Regions from separate parts of the Homo sapiens genome. Here region 2 is linked to region 1. Evidence: promoter capture Hi-C in 16 types of primary human blood cells and fetal thymus (Javierre and others, 2016). All regions are on one chromosome and are shown on one strand. Each heading gives the region's core, a stretch centred on a gene start or on the middle of the fragment in contact. The rest is flanking DNA. Distances are from core to core; before and after follow the strand shown.

Region 1 (3,667 bases), core at 391-2,890:
TGTGGGAGAACCCAGGGGGAGATTTAATAACGACGTCCTCAAAAAGTTCTTTTCTGATGTCACAAACTGTATTTGTTGCCCTTTTCACATTCACCAATAACACTCCATATGTTTCCTTCAGAGAATTATAACTTGTAATTGTCTGTTCCTTGGGTAACTTCTGGGCGGATCCCTCTCTAGACTGAAGGCTTCATGGGGCGGCAACCGTGGTTTTCTGTGCTGCTCACACGCTGAGAACACAGGAGAGGCCGTCAGTACATTTGTGTGATTTTCTTGTTGCGGTTGCATGAAATAATATATATATATATTTTTAAAAAACGTGAAGGGATGGGGACGAAATGCAGGGGAGGAAAGCAAAGGGAAAGTAAATTGTGAAATGAAAATAAATTGGCCTGGAATCTCTCCCTAGTTGAGGTTTGGGCGCTGAATGCACCTTTTTTTTTTTTTTTTTTGACAGTGGAGACCACTGATAGATTCGGGAAACATTTAGAAGAAATGGACAGCGGCCGGACTTCTTTCTCCCATTCACCTTTCTACCCCCTCGTCGTTTAGCACTCTGCCTTGAAAATAAACTGCAACTGATGAATATTTTGGTGATCAATTATACGGGGAATTCTTACAGAGCCTGTTTTTTGTTTAAAGATCTTGGAATTTCTGGAAAAGATTGGTTTGTCCATTCCAAATATTTTGGATGACCTGATTTCATTCTAACTCCCATCCGTCTTTCTATGCGGTTTGTTTTCGCATCTTTTACCTCATTTAAATGCCGTAGCCATGCAGGTGGAAAGCAGAAATCCATTTCTGCGTTTATGTTAAACTGGGGCTGAGAGACTTGCCCAGGGTCGGTGACCGCCCAGGGATCCCCATACCAGCGCGTCTAGCTCCCGCGTTCCGATCCCGGAAGGGAAAACCCATGATCCTGGCGAGGGTCCGTCCACACGTGGCCAGGGTGGCTGATCTTCCCGGCTGCTGTGGTTGTCAACACCACTTCTCCGGATCGATTTTCCCTTTTCCTCGGCTCTGTCGTCCATACGCCACTCACAGCAAACCCAGGCGGCGGGCCCCCTCCGAGGGCGCTCCTTGCGTCCGGACCCAGGTTCTCGGGGCGCCCCCCGGTGGGTCCCCGCGAAGCCGCCGCCGCACACCTTCCTCAGCGTAGCCCGCCAGTGGAAACCGGGGGAGGTTCTGCCTCCAGCACCCAAGCGGCGGCCGCACCTCGCAGTGAGACCCTCGCAAGCGCCCGCGCCTCCCTCGCCCCGCGTCCCCTCTGCCCCGCGAGCCCCCCTGGGCGCCGAGCCGACTCGAACCCGAGCGCGAGTCCCGCGCACAAACGCGCCGGCGCGTCTCTAACAGCGGTCCAGAAAGGCTGACCCTGCCCGGGGGCGACGGGTGTGACCGGGTCCCCCGCTAACTTTCGGGCGCGGTGAGCGTCGCCTGCGCGCGCCGCGGTGGAGGCCGCTGCTTTCCCGCCGGGAGCCCGGCACAGTCCCCGGGTGACCCGCGCGCCCCGCGCAACAGTTGGAGCCGGGCTGCCCGCGCGCTCCCCAAGCCGGGCCCTTCCCCAGATGCAGCCGCGCGCCGGCCGCCCCCCAGTGCGCCGGTGCCTCCCTGGGCGCCGAGTGCGCAGGCGCCGGCCGTGAAGACCGACCGTGCGCCGGGCTCGAGCGCGGTCTGAGCGCGCGGCGCCTGCGGCGGCGAACGGACGGACGGACCGCGGACGGACGTACTGACCCCAACCCGCGAGCCCCGGGAGCCGTCGGTCTGAGGAGGGGCCGCTTCGCCATGTCGCCCCGCACCTGCTGAGCCCGGAGCGTCCGAGGATGTCCGCGCTGAGGAAGGTGCGAGCCGCCGGGGGCTGCCGGGAGCCGGGCGCGGGGCTCCGAGAGCCGTCGAGGCGGGGAGGGCGCGGTGTGTCGGACCCGCGGGGACGCCCCGAGGGCGTCAGGGTTGGGGGCGGGGGCGAGCGGGGGTCGTGCCGCCCGCCGGGGCCGGAGCGCTGGGGACCCCAGGGACAGCCTGTGCTCGGGGGTCGCGCGTTGCGCTCCTCGCCGGGCTCCGCGCATCCCTGGCCGCGCTCGGGGGTGCCGGGACCCTGGGCTCCGGGGGTGCGGGAGCGCACGGGGCCGCGGAGGTGTGAAATTCTCCGCTCTGCCTGCCCGGGGTGGAGGGGGCAAAGCCTGGGGGGTGCCGGCGCGCCAGGGGCTACGCGCCTAGCTCCGGTGGGGCAGCTGCGAGCGAGTGGGGGCGGCGGGCAGCAGACTGCATCCCCCTCCCCCCAAGCCCGGGTGGAAACGCCGACGGGGACTGGGAATGAATGAAGGGTGCCGGGCTGGGCTGCGCGCACGGGGGCTCGCGGGGGCGGGGGCGACCAGGATGGGGCCCTTGTGCCGGGCAGCAGCGGCTGCCGAGACCAGGCGGAGTGGAGGGTGCGCGCAGCGAGGGGGTGGCCGCCGCCCGGCTCTCCAAGTGCGAGCGAGGAGCTCGGGGTCTTTTTTAGGGGTGGTTGCTAAGCGAGGCGCTACCCAGCGCAGGGTTTTGTAACTAAGCCTCCCCCGGCAGCGGCTGTTGCTGTCTCCGGCTCCTTCGCTAACGATTGCAGGAGAAATAATGAGGATGTAATTATTACAGCCCTGCGCGGAGGGCTGGGGGGCGGCGGACGCGGGCTCCTCTGCCTGCGCGCCCAGGTGGGGCTGGGCTGGGCTGGGCTGGGCTGGGCTGGACTGGACGCCTCTCCCCGCCCGGCCCTCCCTCAGCGCGCGGCGTGTGCGGTGCCCGAGGCTTCGGAGCAGGCTGGACCTGGGAACCCGGGGAGGGGCCTGGAGGAGAGATAGCTGGGCGAGGTGGGCGCCGGCGAGAAGGCGGAGCCCCCGGACAGCGTAGGTTCGCAGGTGGAGAGCGGACGCGGGGGCGAGGGTGCGCGGCGGGTCTGCGATGCGCGTCGGAAACTCGCGGCCCCCGGTCCCGGCCCTGCGCGCTTGGAGCCCGGGTCCTTCCAGCCCCTGCGCGACGCCGCCGCCGCCGCCGCCGGTGAATGGCGATCCCGGCCACGGCCTGGAATTGGAAATTCGTGACTTGTCGGCGGCCCCGGTCTTCTATCGATTAAAGATAAAGCGATCAGCAGTGAATTTATCCTTCGTGTGGATGAACTCGGCCAGCCCGGGCTGTGGGGGGTTTGGGAACTGTAAATATTCTCCAAAGCGCCGCCGCTTCTCCCGTCTTCCCGGACTCGAGGCTGGAGGCAGCTCCGGCGACGCGAAGGGGGGTACCCCCCGGAGAGGTCGGGCCTGGGGCGCGGCGGACAGAGACCCGGTCCCAGAGCCTGGCGGAGCCCGACAATCCGCCCTGTCAGGAGGAATCTCATCAACAGCCCGTGAATTAATTGTCCTTGCAGTTGGGAAATAACCCGGTACCTCGGCGTAGCCCGAGGGAGTCCAGGAGGCTCTCCAAGGAGCCTTCCCCCGGGTCGCGAAGCTGCGCTAAACCCCGGCCCCAGCGCACCTTGGAAGGCGCATTTTGGCCTGAGGTGAACGCACCTTACACCATTTTCATTTTACTTCCTTTTCTCTGAGAAAGGTAATAGATAACCAAGGCCAAAAATGGCGAAATGATGAAAAAATGGTAATTCTTGGCAGGTCAAGTTGTTACTCTGGGTTTAAAAAAATGTCAT
Region 2 (3,667 bases), core at 352-2,851, 1.0 Mb after region 1:
GAAACACAGTAATGGTGCTTCTGAAGTTTGCCAAATTTCTATGATGATGAAAAAGCTTTTATCCCAGATACAAAACCTTTGTTCTCAGCATCATCTAGTGACAAGTCGATGGGACTAGGCATTAAGAGATGGGATGTGGATTAAGTAGGATCACTGGGTTTTGGTGAAAGACACCGTTATGAGTTGAATTATACCCCATTCAAAAAAAAAAGGTATGTTGGAGACCTAACCACCCCCCATACCTGGAAATGTGACTTTATTTGGAAATAGGGTCTTGTCTATTTCCAAAGAGGGAATGAAATTAAATCAAATTCAGATAAGGTCATGAGGGAGGATCCTAATTGAATACAGTCAGTGTTCTTATAAAAAGGGGAAACTGGGACACAGAGAGACACACACAGAGGAAGGACACCACGTGAGGACTGGAGCTCCACCACCGAGCCGAGGAGCCACTCAGCCCAGGGGCCACCCAGCCGAGGGGCCACCGGAGGCCAGATCCAGGCCCAGCTGGGACAGACCCTCCCCTGGAGCCTTCAGGGGAGCTCAACCCTGCGGACACCGGGATCTCCGACTTCTGGCTTGGGAGAGAAGACCGTCCTATTGTTTGTGGCACTTTGTTATGGCAGCCCTAACAAACTGATACAGACCCTAAAGCGAGAGGGGTGAACACAGTTCTGACTTTGAAGGCACCAAAGCCCACGTTTGCATTCCAGTTCTGATGCTTATTGATGGTGGCACCACCTGATTTCTCTGAGCTTATTTTCTTTTCATTTATTTATTTTTGAGAGGGAGTCTCACTCTGTCGCCCAGGCTGGAGTGGAGTGGCATGATCTCAGCTCACTGCAGCCTCTGCCTGCTGGGTTCAAGCGATTCTCCTGCCTCAGCCTCCTGAGTAGCTGGGAGTACAGGCACCCGCCACCATGCCCAGCTATTTTTTTTTTTGTATTTTTAATAGAGACAGGGTTTCACCATGTTGGCCAGGCTGGACTCGAACTCCTGACCTCAGGTGATCCACCTGCCTCAGCCTCCCAAAGTGCTGGGATTACCAGTGTGAGCCACTGCAACCTGGCTTTATTTTCTTTGTAAAAAGACATGTGTATCTATCTGAACACACAGATTACAGATACAGATGTGGACATAGATGTAGCTATGGACATAGATGTATATAGATATAGATATAGTAATATAGTTTAGATATTTGTCCCCACCCAAGTCTCATGTTGAGTTGTAATCTCCAGTGTTGGAGATGGGGTCTGGCGGGAGGGGTTTAGTTCGTGGGTGAAGATCCCTCGTGGCTTTGTGCTGTCCTCACAATGGTGAGTGAGTTCTCAGGAGGTCTGGGTGTTTAAGTGTGTGGCAGCTCCCCCAACCCACTCTCTCTCTCTCTGACTTCAGCTCTGTCCATGTGACACACCTGCTCCTGCTTCACCTTCCGCCATGAGCAAAAGCTCCCAGAGGCCTCCCCAGAAGCGGAGCAGATGCTGGTACGATGTTTGCGCAGCCTGCAGAACCGTTAGCCAATTCCACCTCTTTTCTTTGTAAATGACCCAGTCTCAGGTATTTCTTTATAGCAATGCAAGAATGACTTAACAGATATAGACACAGCTGTGATATGGGTATAGATGTAGAAATATAGAGATATGGGTATGGGTATAGATATTGATATGACTGTAGATGTAGATGTAGGTGTATATGTAGACACAGATAAGGATACAGACATATAATTGGCACGCGTACCTGGGATAACACAGATAAAGATGCTTCCTCTCTCTTCTCCTAGACCGGGAGCTCACTGGCAGCAAAGACCCCACATTGCTTCCTGTGTCCATCCCAGTGACACAGCTGCACCTAGGCACACAGCGGATGTCCTTGAGCACCTGTCAGGAAGGCTGACACAGCCTAACCCGCTTGCTCACTCCTCCGACCTCCCACGTGAATGGTACCCCACCAGCCACTATGGTGATGAACAACCCGAGGTCGGTGTCTGGCTGGAAGTTCCCTGGCCCTCAAAAATTATTTTATGTATGGAACATATGGTTTAATGTTTAAATTCTTTAAACTTGCCCGACATAATTGAGCTCACCGATTAGCCCACAGCTAAGGAGTCCTTGCCATTATATCTATGTCCTTCTCTTTATCTTGTTTCCAGCAGCCCCACCCTGCCCTGGCCTGAGCCCCCCACATCCCCCTTGCTGCAAAAATGAATCATTCCCCCTACCTTCCCCAGCTCTGCCCCAATTCCAGGTCAGGCTTTTGTGCTCCAGAAATCATCTACGGGTTTTCCACATAATGCCCATGACAATTTAGCGTCTCTTACCAACATCAGCATCAAGAAGCTACATAAAATGCGTGGATGTTAAATCTACAGTGAGAGCTCCTGGATAGCTCCGTGCCCCAGATTCGCTAATCAGCCTGCAAACCATTTGCACGCAGGCTTTCGTTTACAACAAGAGCTTACATTTTAGCATGAGGCAGAAAGACAAGAAACTCTCACAGATCTCATCTATTCTTCTTTTCAATTACTTTGTAATTCTACACTTCCATTAAGAAGTTAATTACTTCAACGTTAACCTTCCATCTATCTTTGTAACATAAAACAAAGATTGGATAAAAATACAAGGACTTACTAAAATGGCAAACGCTTATAGAACACTTACGAGGTGGCAGGCGGGGTTTTCAGGGCTCCGCTCATTGAGTATATTAACCGGGATTCCCGTGAGGGCTGTGAGACAAACACGGGCAGTGCTCAAAACGCTTCACAGCCAGTTCAGCTCCACGTTGATTGCTGAGTCGTGGAAACGTGCAAGGGGTCCCGGAGAGTCAACTGTTTACCAACTGGCTTGGGAGTATTCAAATGTGTAACAACGGAACGCTGATGTGCCGGGGTATGTGGCCTGAATCCCACCAGCCTCTGTGGCAGGAACAGCATCAGCCCATTTTATAGAGAAGGAAACTGAGGCCCAGAGACAGGAAGCGACATTCCCAGGGCTCACAGACAGCATGGGTGCAGATGGACCGTGCAGTCTGGTTTCCACAGCTGAGCCAGTGGCCTCTGCACTAACTGTCTCAATTCTGGGACTGGAAATGGACTGTGTGTGTACGTTACAATATTGTTTTAACAACCAGATACATTTTCTGACTTCCTATGAAAGCTTTCAAATGCACAGAAAAAGTGAAAAAGAAATAAGATGAATACTCATGTACCAAACAACCAGATCGACGATTCTTATTGTTCAGTCATATTTACTTCAGCACATACACATACACACCATCCTCACACACATACACATACACACACGTACACGTTCACACAGACACATACATACTCACACACATATGCTGACATACACACACACTCACATACACTCTTGCACACACAGCTGAGCCCTTTCAGAATAAACCACCATACTGTCACTCGAGCCCAGTGCTTCAGCACATTTCTCTTAAAAACATAAACTTTTGGCTGGGCACGGTAGCTCACACCTGTAATCCCAGCACTTTGGGAGGCGGAGGTGGGCGGATCACCTGAGGTCAGGAGTTCGAGACCACCCTGACCAACATGGAGACACCCCATCTCTACTAAAAGAAACAAAAATACAAAATTAGCCAGGCTTGGTGGCGCGTGCCTGTAATCCCAGCTACTTGGGAGGCTGAGGCAGTACAATCG

The links. The method cuts DNA at HindIII sites, captures the fragments that hold promoters and counts their contacts. A CHiCAGO score of 5 or more calls a contact.
Region 2: a contact is called between a fragment that was not itself captured here and the fragment with the promoter of DLGAP2 in region 1, in 1 of 17 cell types (neutrophils). The highest score is 6.3, in neutrophils.

Annotation. Positions count from the first base shown.
Region 1 is chr8:735,988-739,654 of GRCh38, forward strand. DLGAP2 (DLG associated protein 2) reads left to right here and starts at 1,641. Exons shown (of 15, transcript NM_001346810.2): 1 at 1,641-1,838. The coding sequence starts at 1,821. LOC124902044 (a long non-coding RNA gene) reads right to left here and starts at 1,043. Exons shown (of 2, transcript XR_007061156.1): 1 at 870-1,043; 2 at 47-230. LOC401442 (a long non-coding RNA gene) reads left to right here and starts at 2,561. Exons shown (of 1, transcript NR_134292.1): 1 at 2,561-3,667. The HindIII fragment of the contact is 4,533 bases long and covers 1-3,667 here.
Region 2 is chr8:1,746,557-1,750,223 of GRCh38, forward strand. It overlaps LOC105377778 (a long non-coding RNA gene), which reads right to left. Exons shown (of 4, transcript XR_007060784.1): 3 at 1,738-1,848. Among named protein-coding and RNA genes, the nearest start is that of CLN8, 15 kb to the right of the region's middle. The HindIII fragment of the contact is 3,097 bases long and covers 54-3,150 here.